Linked DNA regions of Homo sapiens: all the other regions are linked to region 1. The links are contacts of gene promoters, found by promoter capture Hi-C in blood cells and fetal thymus (Javierre and others, 2016). All regions are on one chromosome and are shown on one strand. Each heading gives the region's core, a stretch centred on a gene start or on the middle of the fragment in contact. The rest is flanking DNA. Distances are from core to core; before and after follow the strand shown. Region 1 holds the start of POLG (DNA polymerase gamma, catalytic subunit). Region 2 overlaps ABHD2 (abhydrolase domain containing 2, acylglycerol lipase). Region 3 overlaps RHCG (Rh family C glycoprotein).

Evidence for each region. The method cuts DNA at HindIII sites, captures the fragments that hold promoters and counts their contacts. A CHiCAGO score of 5 or more calls a contact.
Region 2: a contact is called between a fragment that was not itself captured here and the fragment with the promoter of POLG in region 1, in 1 of 17 cell types (naive CD8 T cells). The highest score is 5.1, in naive CD8 T cells.
Region 3: a contact is called between a fragment that was not itself captured here and the fragment with the promoter of POLG in region 1, in 1 of 17 cell types (M2 macrophages). The highest score is 5.2, in M2 macrophages.

What each region holds. Positions count from the first base shown.
Region 1 is chr15:89,333,574-89,338,118 of GRCh38, reverse strand. POLG (DNA polymerase gamma, catalytic subunit) reads left to right here and starts at 3,295. Exons shown (of 23, transcript NM_002693.3): 1 at 3,295-3,446; 2 at 4,206-4,545. The coding sequence starts at 4,365. POLGARF (POLG alternative reading frame) reads left to right here and starts at 4,310. Exons shown (of 2, transcript NM_001430120.1): 1 at 4,310-4,545. The coding sequence starts at 4,310. POLG-DT (POLG divergent transcript) reads right to left here and starts at 3,632. Exons shown (of 2, transcript NR_186332.1): 1 at 3,265-3,632; 2 at 1,958-2,932. It overlaps TRR-TCG1-1 (tRNA-Arg (anticodon TCG) 1-1), which reads right to left and starts at 3,046; the gene lies at 2,974-3,046. RefSeq lists silencers at 1,110-1,279, 3,237-3,836 and enhancers at 2,087-2,136, 2,477-2,546, 2,557-2,656, 3,526-4,027. The HindIII fragment of the contact is 8,583 bases long and covers 1-4,545 here.
Region 2 is chr15:89,088,785-89,093,329 of GRCh38, reverse strand. All of the region lies in intron 1 of ABHD2 (abhydrolase domain containing 2, acylglycerol lipase), which reads right to left. LOC124903573 reads left to right here. Exons shown (of 7, transcript XM_047433432.1): 3 at 1,089-1,154; 4 at 2,047-2,195; 5 at 4,398-4,495. Among named protein-coding and RNA genes, the nearest start is that of ABHD2, 2.6 kb to the right of the region's middle. RefSeq lists an enhancer at 4,215-4,545. The HindIII fragment of the contact is 936 bases long and covers 2,290-3,225 here.
Region 3 is chr15:89,469,623-89,474,167 of GRCh38, reverse strand. It overlaps RHCG (Rh family C glycoprotein), which reads left to right. Exons shown (of 11, transcript NM_016321.3): 10 at 1,305-1,457; 11 at 2,313-2,761. The coding sequence ends at 1,433. It overlaps LOC112268153 (a long non-coding RNA gene), which reads right to left. Exons shown (of 2, transcript XR_002957725.2): 2 at 4,437-4,545. Among named protein-coding and RNA genes, the nearest start is that of RHCG, 25 kb to the left of the region's middle. The HindIII fragment of the contact is 7,550 bases long and covers 1-4,545 here.

The DNA of each region.
Region 1 (4,545 bases), core at 2,046-4,545:
ACCAGCTATAGGGCTTTAGGCAAGCTGCTTCGCCTCTCTGTGCCTTAGTTTCCTCATGGGTGAAAGGGGATAACGGTACCTCTATCCAAGGGTCGATGTGAGGATTCACTTAAGTGACATATGTGAGCCCTTAGAACAGCACCTGGCAGCTAGCAAGTGCCGGTTATTACCAAGCTCCAGGCAGGTCCTGGAATTGAGCTCAAAATAAGACACAAGGTCAGTCCCTATGGGCATTTACAGCAGTGGAAGGGGGAGATTTTTAAAAAATCATCATTAGTTACAACTGAGGTACATGCTTTGAAAGTACAGGGTGTTCTGGCCCAGCGCAGTGACTCAAGCCTGTAATCCCAGAACTCTGGGAGGCCAAGGCGGGTGGATCACTTGAGGCCAGGAGTTCCAGACCAGCCTGGCCAACATGGTGAAACCAGTCTCTACTAAAAATACAAAAATTAGATCCACATGGTGGCACACACCTGTAATCCCAGCTACTCCGGAGGCTGAGGCACGAGAATCGCTTGAACCTGGGAGGTGGAGGCTGCAGTGAGCTGAGATCACGCCTCTGCACTCCAGCCTGGGCACAGAGCAAGACTCTGTCTCAGAAGAAGAAGAAGAAAAAAAGTACGGAGTGTTTTGATGAGGACAGGGGTCCTAATGAACTTTGCCTCTTGCTCTGTGGGGGGAGAGGTCCAGGGAATTGTGGGAAAATGTAACTGTTTCTCAGGAACCACTATCAAGGACAGACTTTTCTAGAAGGACGTGGGGGAGTTCCTAGAAAAGGAGGCAGGGGAAGTGGAGGAGCTGGGTTCAGAAAGGCCTGGAAACAGGGTGTAGCCTGGCAGGAAGGGTGCAGGCCTCCAGGTACCCTCCCTCAGCAGGAATCAGTATCAACCGTTTTTGTCCTTGTTGAAGATTCTAATTCCAGGACCAGGGCACTAGGCTAGTCTCAAGTAGTCTATGGGAGGAGCAGGCATCTTGATGGACATCTCCTGAGACTGAATCTCAGGAGAGGCCAATCAGGCCCAGCAACAGCAGCCCCTGTGGACAGTTGGGCCAGGGGTTCTTAGCTTTTTTGTGTCATAGACACCTTCTTAGAATAGTGTGTTTCTTTCTTTCTTTTTTTTCTTTTTTTTGTTGTTGTTGTTGTTTTGGTGGGGAGTGGGGAGATGGAGTCTCACTCTGCTGCCCAGACTGGAGTGCCATGGTGCAATCTCGGCTCACTGCAGACTCTGCCCCCCGGGTTCAAGAGGTTCTCCTCCCTCAACCTCCCAAGTAGCTGGGATTACAGGCGTGCACCACCATGCCGGGCTAAGTTTTGTATTTTTTTGGTAGAGATGGGGTTTCGCCATGTTGGCCAGACTGGTCTTCAACTCCTGAGCTCAGGCAATCCATCCACCTCAGCCTCCCAAAGTGCTGGGATTACAGGCGTGAGCCACTGAACCTGGCCTAGAGTAGTGTTTCTGTTTTTAATTTTTTTCTGTGAAATATGTTTTATTAATTTTTATTTCAATAGGGGTACAGGCAGTTTTTGGTTATATGGAAGAATAGTGTTTTTAAGCACATAAAACATGAAGGATTACAAAGGACACCAAAGGTATTCAAATATTAGGACAAATAGGTAAACTTATTAACTAACAGGATCTAGTGGCAGTCTAGTAACCCCTGTTATTTTGAAGTACAGATAAGTGCAAACAAATTTTGAAAAATGTGCAGCACTTGTAATGCGTTATGAAAATATCTGTGGTTGCTGGAGGGGACAAAGTCACAGGCACTGTTAATACCACTGTGGCTGACAGCCTATGCTCATAATTGGAGGAAATGCCAAGTATCAGTAGGCGGTTAGAAGAAACAAGATGAAAATGTTTTCCCCATTCAGGGACTCCCTGATTTAAGCTGAGAGCCTCTCCTTCCAGTATTTTGTAAAAGTCAACAGTTATGTGAAAAAAAAAAAAAAAACAGATGAATTTCTGATTGATTGTATTTTTTTGGCAAAACAAAAAAATCACAAACATTAAAACATTGTGTATATTAAGTACATCTAGAAAAGTGTATGCAAAATATTTCATATTTAAATAGAAGGGACCAGGGCTCAATGCTGCTTGGCCCGGGGCTTCTCTCTACCTCTCCACGTGGCGGGAGCAGGTGAGGGTCGGCATCAGCCCGCAGGGCCGGCGGAGGATTGTTTCCCTGCACCCCACTCCTTAAAAACGCGAAAGTCAACTTCTGTAGTCCGTTCACGGTGTCCTGGGATCCACGCTGGACGGTGGCGGCCGACTTTCAGCTTGACCTGAATTTTATTCCTAATCAGCTGTGTGATCTCGGTTGGTCCCAAACGTCTCTGAGCCTCCCTTTCATCTGTGCAGCTGGGCCTCCAGACCCCAACCCCCAGGCGGTGCTTAATCACGTAGACCTTATTCTGCGTGCACTTTACCACAGTTCACCAACCACCGAGCGCTGAGAGCTGTTGAAGCACCTGGAGCAACACAAGACGGATGCGGAGACTGGAAACAGCTGGGGAAGGGGACAAGCTCCAGCCGCGCTGTGGGCCGGAGGCTAGCATCTGCGGGCAAATTCAGGTTCAACGGAAGGCAACATTTTTACCCCTCAGAATTGCTCTGGACGAGGAGGCAGCACCGGATGGGCGAGGGAGGGAGCCTCGCTTTGGCTGCGAGCCCCAACTCTTGCCAACCATCAATTGAGTATAAATTGAGATTTCTGTACAGGATGCCCCTCCCTCTCCACTTTCCTCCACCTGCGTCGGGGTGCGAGAGACCTGGTACATTTTAGAAATGTGCCTCCGCTGAGACACGTAGGCGGGCAATCTCGCAGGGACTTGCTGGGCGTGGTTACTTCCGCGGATCTTGGCGTTCCCACATCTTTGAAGTGCGGTGGGAATCGGCGGCGACTACGTTCACATTGTCCCAATACTTCGTTCCTGAGGGAGGAATAAACTAAAAGTTAATCATAACCTCCCTTCGACCGCGGCAGGACTCGAACCTGCAATCTTCTGATCCGAAGTCAGACGCCTTATCCATTAGGCCACGCGGCCCGTCGGTTGTTACCGTCTCTTGAGCAACTTATAAAAACGTCACCTCCGCCCACCAGCTAGCTCGGGACCAATCCACCTGCTCCTTGAGAAGGGGAGGTTGGCCTTTGGTTCGCGCGTTCCGCAGGGAGAGCCCACCCAGAAGTCCCCCTTCTCCCCCCGCGGGCGGACCGCTCCATTGGCGGCCCTCCTATTGGTCGCGCTGGGAGTCTCCCGCTTGCCTCTCGGGTAGCCGCGGGACCTAGCTGGGTGCAGACGGGAAGTTGCGGCTGCCAGCGAAGCGGACCGGCCGGGTGGAGGCCACACGCTACCCCGAGGCTGCGTAGGCCGCGCGAAGGGGGACGCCGTGCCGTGGGCCTGGGGTCGGGGGAGCAGCAGACCGGGAAGCACCGTGAGGACCGAGGTTTCCGGCGGGGTCGGCGGCGGGGAGGCCGGGTCGCTGAGCGACGGCGCGGCCCCTCCCTCTCCAGTCAGGGAGCGAGGCCCGGAGCAGGGCGGCGGCTAGTCCCAGGGCGCACCGCGGCGCCTCTGCCGGGCGCAGGCGGGCGGCGGGGCGCACGGGGGTGGCCGCCGACTCCTCCTGCAGGACGCTCTCGGCCGGGTGGGCCGTGGTCCGGGTGTGGGTGTGGGTCCCGGGGGACGGCGGCCCACCCTGCGGGTTCGAATCCGGGCGCTGGCACCTCTCGACGCTAGGCCCGCGCCGGTCGCGGTAATGGCAGCCACCATTTGCCGAGCGCTTGCCAAGAGCAGGGCCGCACGACATAGGCGCCCTGTGTCCCCCAGACAGCAGCCCGGTGTGACAGGCAGAATCCGTAATCCCATTTTACAGAATAGGATATCAGGGCCTAAGGAGCTTTGCCCAAGGTCACACAGCTCGAGAGAGCCAGAAGCGGGGTTCAAAACCGCGTCGCCCTACTCCAGATACTGCTCTCTTACTCGCTGCCCTCGGCTTCCCCACGTGGGTTCACTGACGAAGTTGCGTGGACCCCGGTTCCCCCAGGAGGGGTATTGACGTTTCCCAAGTTTTGAGGCTTAACGGAAAATGCAACTGAAGCGCCTGGCACAGTGTTGGGGACGCAGTAAATGCTCAAGGAATGATGATTATGGATACACCTATTACATATATGGTAAAATAACGCTTTATATCATCTGTCTCCTTTAGGATTTGGGGTGGAAGGCAGGCATGGTCAAACCCATTTCACTGACAGGAGAGCAGAGACAGGACGTGTCTCTCTCCACGTCTTCCAGCCAGTAAAAGAAGCCAAGCTGGAGCCCAAAGCCAGGTGTTCTGACTCCCAGCGTGGGGGTCCCTGCACCAACCATGAGCCGCCTGCTCTGGAGGAAGGTGGCCGGCGCCACCGTCGGGCCAGGGCCGGTTCCAGCTCCGGGGCGCTGGGTCTCCAGCTCCGTCCCCGCGTCCGACCCCAGCGACGGGCAGCGGCGGCGGCAGCAGCAGCAGCAGCAGCAGCAGCAGCAGCAACAGCAGCCTCAGCAGCCGCAAG
Region 2 (4,545 bases), core at 1,508-4,007, 240 kb after region 1:
GTGTGCCTGTAATCCCAGCTACTTGAGAGGCTGAGGCAGGAAAATCGTTTGAACCCGCGAAGCAGAGGTTGCAGCGAGCCAAGATTGCGCCACTGCACTCCAGCCTGGGAGACAAAAGTGAGACTCTGTCTCAAAAAAAAAAAAAAAAAAAAAAAAGAATGAAAAAAGATGCTGGAAATGTGACTTGGGGAGGCCAGGAAGCTTCTCTGGAGAACAGAGAGCAAACGGCAAACTTTCCCTGGAAATGCTAGCACATTCTGCACAGACGGCAAGGCGAAGAAGGGCCCAAGGACCAATGCGTTCCTCACTCTCCAGTGCCCCAGCTCTCCCTTCTCAGCTGACCTTTAGAAGCTCCCCTGCACCTCCCCCGGGCTCTCACAGAAAAGAAAAATATTTGCCTCCAAATATTCACAAGATCTTTAAGATCTCCAGCAAAGCTGCTGCCTAAATAAGACTGTTTTTTAGCATCCTTAGAAACAGAAAACAGATATCTAAAATAGACGGCCTTCATAAAAAATGACGTGGAAGCTCTTTTCACACTGCCAAGAAATATTAAGTGAAAAAGGCAAGGTTCCAAATAGCATGTATGCAGTGTGCTACCATTTCTGCAAAAAGGGGTGGTGTACAGAATATGTTTAACGAATTTGCTTACAGATGTATAAAATCCCTTGGAAGTTCAGGGACCACTTCTGGAGGATGAAGAAATCGCTAATACTGGTTGCCTCTGAGGATCAGGGGTCAGGGGTACACACAGATGTATTTACTAGTTAACCTTTTGTGCCTTTAAAAAATTTTCTTTCATCATGTGAATGTATTGCCTATTTTTAAAAACTAAAATTTGAATTAAAAAATTTTAAAATTTCTATTAAAAACAATTTTAAAACAAAATAGTTTTTAAGCAACAAACCAAACTAATTTGTTAATCTTGTCAACTGTGTTCCTGGCACACACCAGATGCTTAATTTGTTGAACTTAATGAACCTCCACTTAAAGACAACAAAAGAAAATCAGAAACCAGGCAAATCCAAGGGTACCAACGTTCCACTTCTCTAAAAAGCTCTTCACCTGTCTGCTATTTATTGTGAAAGATCAGACAATGAGTCGGTGTGTAACAAGCCCCTCACCCAAATGGCCCCAGTCCACAAGCTTCAGGGGTAATGGTGGAGCTTATCGTCTGTCCACACCAACCATTTTACAAACAGAAAACATTCAATCCAAAAATATGATGCCCTGGACAAGACAACAAAAATCAATCTGCAGATATGAAAATCCTGAAAGGAGATAATGTAGCATCTGTATGGTATCAACAAAGAAACAGCAGCACAGGGCTTAAAAATGTCCTACTCATGCACTGGCCAAAAAGGCTGAACCATGAAAAGCTGCTATAAAATCCTGACACCAGACACATTTAAGAGGCACCCTGAACTTCTCATTGCTCTGTTCCTGGGGATAGCTTAGCCCAAGATGAAACAGAAAGGCTAAAGCAACTCATGCCCCACATCATCTATACTCTGAAACTGGTCATGGAGTACTCAAAACTCACAATGCAATAAAAATGGGAATACTGTAAGCTGTAGGTCATGGTAGAAATTCTGCCACACAAAATTCAATTATATTGGAAATGTCTCTCTCCTGGGGCTTTTAAAAGAGCCAGATTTTAGGCAAAAAATAAGACAGACTCTACCCCTGTCTCCCATAAGACCAAAGAAATTATTTCCTGCTCGGGGCAGGAGCTCTGAACAAGGGCAGTGAGAACCACTACAGAGGTTATGGGTCCTGCCGGAGATTACCAGGAAAAGGCGTAAATGCTTAAAGCAACGAGTAACAGCAAATGAGAAGCTCATCCACCAAAATACTGAGAAAAGAGAGTGAGAAAGAGAGAAAGGGGCCCATATTAATACACAAGCAAAGAAATGAAAACTATTATTCTAAAATGGCTGATCTCTAGAACAGCTTAAACAAAAACCGAAATTCAGAATCAACTCAAGAAAAATAAAGCATGAGAAGGTGCCATTTAATGAAGTGATAATCTTTGGTTCAATCTAGAAAACAAGTAAAAACAGAAGAGAAAATCAAAGGTGACTGGATTCCTGCAAAAAATGAAAGTGGCAGGCATCTTTTCATCAAAAGGGAATTGGCTGGCACACTGAGAGTGCCTATTTGTCAGACCCACGCAGGCGATAAAGGAAATGAAGGTGAGAGTAAAAAGGGAAAAAAGTGAACGACCCTGACTAAAATGAGAGGAAAAAGACCATTCCCTTGTACTTGCCATCTGGTTTATTTCAAGCTTTGGAAAAGAACAGGAAAAACACAGATAAACCAGTGAACCAGCTAGATTGCCAGCACGGATCAGTCACACACTTTTGCTTCTGCCAGGCCAGGCAGGCGCTGCTGGTGCTCCCCCTATTCGAATGACTAAGTAACTTCCTTAAATGCAGTTGACACATGATCCCTGAACTTCCGAAAAGCACTTAATACAGTGGCTCATAAAATCTTAATCTAAAAATGTTCATCCATTTAGAATCAAGCTGCATCACACTCATCGCTTGGGAGGAGGGCTGAAGAGAGGGAATACATATTTGGAAGGACACCATGGACACGGGTATCATCCAGGACTTTACCATTTCGAGGGATTCCCACCCCTCACTGCCTGCTTTTAACGATAATTTTAAAGGGTTCAGAGCCTAAGAAGAATGTAACTGCAAGGGGGAACTAACATAGAAACTAAATTACCTGAATCACAAAAATAAGTAAGGTATAAAATGCAACGTGACTTGGAAACCCCTTGCAGCTGTCTGTGTTAAAATGAAATCTGGAATATGTTAAATGAATTTGGGGGTGGGGGGAAGGGGACTGGGGGAAAAATTAGCTCTTGATAGAGTATTGGGTGGTGGATATGAAGAAAAATGTACAAAAAGGCAACAGAATATCATATCTAGCAAATCTATTGTGCTTACCCTGTGCCAGGTACTGTTCTAAATGCTTCAGATGTAGTAACTCCATGCACTTCTCAAAACAATCTTCTAACATAAGTATCATTATTATTTCTGTTTTAGAGGTGAGGAAACAGAGGCACAGAGAAGTTAAGTAGCTTGCCCAAGGTTGTACAGCCAGTAAGAGGCAGGGCTGGGATTCAAATCCAGGCACTCAGGCACCAAAATCTGTCCTCCTAACCTCTCTGGACTCCCCTAGAACTTAAAACACTGAGAATGGGCAAACTAAGCTTGGAGTGAAATAAGTCATGCACTGGCTAGATCTAAATACAGTCAAGAGATCAACCCTTAGTCATGGGCCTGTGATGACCAACCAGCCCTGTGACCACCCCAGGCCTCAGTTTCCTCACCTGTGCATTGAGGAGACTGAATGAGAGTCCACCTAATTAGACTTAGATAGAGATGAGCTCTATCTAAGGTGCCTTCAGCTCTAAAATGTCACAGTCCGTGCTGACTACCAGCTGTATATGGACTGCTTTCTGACTAGATGTTCAAAGATTAATTCATCCTAAAACACACAGCAAGGTGTGTTAAGATTCTTTCTCTGCCTCCTGACCTTTAGATTATTATGTTCTCTCTATTCCGGCAAATGACAGAGGGTAGTGAAGGATTTCTCTTTTGGACTCTGCTTAATGTGGCTGTAAGGAAACGGCCTTCGAAAAGCTCTGGGCACAGATCTTGTTGACTCTGCCAAACCTGCAGTCTCTCCAGGTCCCTCTGTGGAGCCTGTTCTTGGAACATGCCTTTGGATTTGGTTACTGGAATGCAGGTGAAACTGACAAACTGGAGGTCCAGCAACCAAAAAAGAGAGATTGGGAAGATTAAGAGAGCGGTCCATGGTAGTTCAAATACAAGGAGTTTCACAGTGGCTAAATAAACCTCTATCTTTTTGTATAATCCAGTCTCTTTGCTAACACCCACTCTTGAGAGCTGAAACCTCAAAATTCATTATGGGTGAATTCAACAGCCACTTGGAACCTAATGGACCCCCAGAAGTACTCTTCTCAAGCTAGGCATCAAAGGCCACTTAGAGTGCATTTGTGGGTAGAGAAGGCCCTTACAGATGGGTCATGCAGTCCTCCCTTGGGAGTCCTAAGCATCCGACACAGGTGGCTGTCATCAGGCCACTGCTTGGACATCGCCAAGGTCGAGGCGCTAGCTGCCCGGCCTGGCAGGCAGCCTCCTGCGCTGCTGGACAGCTCTAGCTGTGGGAAAAGCTCACGAAGGGCCTAGAACAGTGCCGGTCGCGGGGCCGAACTCGGTAAATGTGCTTCCAAGTGGGTCAAAAGCTGCCTTTCTAGAACTTAAACCCACTGGTCCTGCGTGAGCCCCTGGAGCCCCGAAACACAGAGGCCTCTCGGGTATCTCGGGCTGTAATCAGGCCCCTCGGCCCTCTCCTTCCAGGTGCGGATCCCGGACCTTCTTCGCCGAGCCTGAACCGGCAGACCCCTCCCCAGGCCCCTGAAGACCCAGGAGTGAGCACCAATGGGGGAAAGGCCGCGGTCGGGGTTGTCCCCAACCTCGGTTCCTCGGGCAGAAGGGGACAAAGGGC
Region 3 (4,545 bases), core at 967-3,466, 140 kb before region 1:
TTTTTCTCTGCATAGATTTTTCTTACACGGTTGAAATTGTATTATTCACCCAATTTAGTATCCGTCTCTTTCTCCTTACCACTCTATCATAAGAATTGTTCTGTGTTATTACATTCCTAATAAACTTTCTTTTCTCACAGGATAATTATTTCTATTCTATATTTAAGAAAGTCAGAACTTAAACTATTTTAGACACCACAATTAGAAACCAACAGATTTTACGCTAACGAAATAAATCAGAAATGTTATCAGTTCCCCCATGTAGAAGTTCCCTCTTGGTTCTGTTTTGATCTTTATAATTTATTCCAAGTTCACACCTCTCAGCTCTATATACCTTGAGCAGTACAGACGTCCCCCAGTAACCTCAGGGGATTGGTTACAGGATCTCTTGCGGGGATGCTCAAGTCCCTGATATAAAATGGCATAGTATTTGCATAAAAGCCTACATGTATCCTCCCACATATTTTAAGTAATCTGTAGATTACTTGTAATACCTAACACAATGTAAATGCTGTATTGTTTTTTGTTTTTATTATTTTTATTGTTATATTGTCATTTTTTGTTGTTGCTTTTTCTAAATATTTTCAACCTGTGATAGGTGTAACCTGCTGATACAAAACCCATGGGTATGGAGGGCTGGCTGTACCTGGTTGGGAATAACAAAATTCTGTGCCAATGGAAGGAACACTATCAGGCAGTCCCTGAGGCCCTGAGTGGTTTACCTTGGGAGTGAGGTGGCTTCTCAGAGGATGGGGATTGGACCAGTGTTCCCCAGGACCACAGATGGGGCAAGGGCAGGGCTGACCTGCCCTGCCTGCCCTCCACCTCTCTACCCACTTCTGGCCTTCCCTGCACCTTCCCCACCCCATTTTCGGACCTGTCTGCAGTTTACAGAGCTTGCCATACTACCTTTTACCGCCTCTGCCCCTTACTCCAATTCATCTTTTAAAAGTGGGTTCAGCACAACTTCTCAGCATCCCCCAGGCTGGGTTATAAGCCTGTTGTGTGCATTTGCAACTCTTACTGTCACTGGGTATTTCACTGCAATGCCTCACCATTGCTCTCATGGGGCAAGGACACTGTCTCCTCCTTGCCATGCCTCAGCACCCAGGACAGTGCCTAATATAGGGTAGGGGCAGGACTCCTGTGTTGAAGGACCACCCTGCTCTCCGTGGCATGTGATCCGCACGGCGATCACAAGGTGGCGCTCGCCACACACCATTTGCAGCTCCAGGTTCTAGTCACCAGGGACACCCTTGCCTGGACTGGGACAGGGCCCTCAGAGTTGCATCCTCTCTCTGTAGATGCCTGAAGGGAACAGCACTGTCTACATCCCTGAGGACCCCACCTTCAAGCCCTCAGGACCCTCAGTACCCTCAGTACCCATGGTGTCCCCACTACCCATGGCTTCCTCGGTACCCTTGGTACCCTAGGCTCCCAGGGCAGGTGAGGAGCAGGTGAGCATGGGCTTGGCTTGGGGGATGACAGGGAGGTTCTCCCAGTGGGGGCCCAGCTCTCAGAATCAGATGTTACTAGCAAAGAGGCAAAAAGCAAACATCAAGAAATGAGGGCTTCCACCCCTCCTGCCTGAGGTGCAGTGGGCACATGGGGTTGGCAGGGGAGCTTCTTAGAGTCAGACAACGTGCATCCAGGACAGACACAGGAACAGGTGAAGGCACAAGGGCCTGGAAGGAATATGGAAGGAGACCTGGGGGCACACTTGGCTTTGTGACTGTGCCTGCTGGTGTGTGACTTTGAGAATCTCTTCACCCCAGAGACTGGGCCTCGATTTCCTCATCTATAAAAATGAAGCTGACACGTCTGGTTGTATTCAGTTGCTCAGCTCAGATGAGACCCACCCTCCCCTCTTTCTTTCCGTCAACTAACACTGTGCCTCCTCTGTGGAATGCACCAAGCCCTTGCTCATGGCTTTCACATCTAACCTTCCCAAGATCTCTACAAGGCAAGTAGAATTACTGCCCTCATTTTAATAGATGAGCAAACTAAGGCTCGGAGAAGTTCAGGTTCTTCAAGATCACACAACTAGCAAGTGGAGAAACTGGGGTCCTTGCTGGTCATTGTTACTGTTTTTATTATTGTTATTTAACTTCCTTGGAGGCCAGAGCTTGGCAATAGCTGGGTCTGGGGCCTGAGTGATGTGGCAAGAGAGGATGTTAGGGTGCCAGGAAAGAGGAAGGTGAGGCTATGCCCAGTTGCCTTTAATGTCCACCCCATCCAGAAAAGAAAATGGTGCCTGAGAGGCTACAGCAGGACCCGGCAGTGACCCGCTGCTCTTGGCTGTCTCCCTGCAGGCTCCACAGACTGTCCTGGGGCCCAGAGGAGCTGGTGCTGACCTAGCTAGGGATGCAAGAGTGAGCAAGCAGCACCCCCACCTGCTGGCTTGGCCTCAAGGTGCCTCCACCCCTGCCCTCCCCTTCATCCCAGGGGGTCTGACTGAGAATGGAGAAGGAGAAGCTACAAAGTGGGCATCCAAGCCGGGTTCTGGCTGCAGAAGTTCTGCCTCTGCCTGGGGTCTTGGCCACATTGGAGAAAAACAGGCTCAAAGTGGGGCTGGGACCTGGTGGGTGAACCTGAGCTCTCCCAGGAGACAACTTAGCTGCCAGTCACCACCTATGAGGCTCTTCTACCCCGTGCCTGCACCTCGGCCAGCATCTCCTATGCTCCCTGGGTCCCCCAGACCTCTCTGTGTTGTGTGCGTGGCAGCCTCCAGGAATAAACATTCTTGTTGTCCTTTGTAAAATGGTGTGAATGCTCCAATGGGGCCAGTTTGAGGGAGAAAAGGACCCAAGAGACCTGCTTCTGCCCCAGCCCTTACCTTCATCCAAGGGTACCACCCACACTGCGAGGAAAGTCATTGCAGGCTGAACAGGCAGAACTTGGGTACTAGAGCCTGCCTTCAGCCTGGGGCACCCAGCAGGGCTCAGCTCTGGGCTGGGGTCTTGCTTCAAGGCCCCTCCATCAGCTACTCCAGAAACTCAGCCCTTGAGAAAGCTGGCATCTCTGTTGTGCCCTCCATGTGGTCCTGCTCTGGGCACTCCAGCAGGACTGCGAGAAGGGAGGGAGGGCTCCTTTGGGCCCATCTCCTCCTCCCCATCCCTTCCCTTCTTTCTCTCTGCCAAGCCAGCCTTCTTTTCCCTGGACAGTGGGGTAAGGTTTCAGGAGGGTAGATCTCCCAGGCTCACCACCACCCTGGGCAGAGTAATACACCTTCCTGCCCTCAGGGGCTCACAGTCTAGCTGGGAGACAGACCTGACCCTCAGAATCCATGCTGAACTCTGACAGGTGTGGCTGGACAGGAAGTCTGTACCCAGTTGGCTTCTCAAAGCAGGGCCACCTGAGCAGGGTTCTGGAGGCTGAATAGGAGTTTACCAGAAGGATGGCAAAGAAACAGCATGGGCACAGACCCATGGGTAGGAATTAACACGGTGAAGTCTGCTACTGGCTAGAAGAGATGTGAGGCAGAAGTGTGCCAGTTGGAGAATAAGACTTGGAATCCGGATCTTTTGTGGAGCAAAGGCTCCTGGGAAGAAGGGGTGAGGGAAAAGGGAGGAGGTCTCTCAGCTTCCAACTCCGCCCTCCCCGCCCCCTTGCAATTCACACACACACACACACACACACACACACACACACACACACACACACACACACACCGCTGCATGCCTCTTACCAGTGCAGGGGGGAGGGGAAGGAGGGATCTGAAATGCAACCTATTCATGTACCCGCGATGTAACACCCCTCATTTTCCATGCTGGGTAAAGACAAAAACCCTTTACAACCTGTTTCTGGAACTTGTCAGCAGCTGCCAAGAGGAGCATGTTAATTAAACGTCGGCAAAGATGGAAGCCGGAGACCCTGGCTCTAATTGGACAGTTTGCTTCACCGGATTGAAAAACATTGTGACAAAGGAGAAGGTGCGCGGCGCTCGGCAGGGGTGCGGCGTGGCGGGGAGGGAGCTGTGGCTTTGATTTCAGCTGATCTGAGCCCCAGCCTCCCTCCCCCAGCAGAGCCGCTTGGCCCAGCCCCATATGCCTATGAAGGGCCTGGGAGGGGCCCGCAGCGTGAGAGGGTGCAGGGTGGCGTGGGGGGCGGGGTGCGAAGGGGTGCTGGGGGGGTGGTTCCTGAAGCCCACCTCCCACCCCTCCCACCCCAATCCCAGGCACCACCAGGCCAACAGTATTGGGCCCAACCCAGAGCCAGGCTTTTAGGGCTCTGGGGCTCACCCCTCCTCCTGATCACATGACCTGGGTCCTGGGGGCTGCACAGGGAGGGGAGGGGGCCAGCGCTGGCTTCCAACTCCCTCCTGTGCAATGTGCAGGCTACACTAAGAGCCTATGCCCACCGCGTCTGTTACCAGTTGAGGATAGTTGTCCAAGTTCTTGGCATTTTGAACAAAGAATTAGACCAAATGCACAAAGCAAGGCAGCAAAAGCAGAGATTTATTTTAAACGAAAGTACACTCCACAGGGTGGGAGCGGGCTCGAGCAAGAGGCTCAAGAGCCTGGGCTACAGGATTTTCTGGGGTTT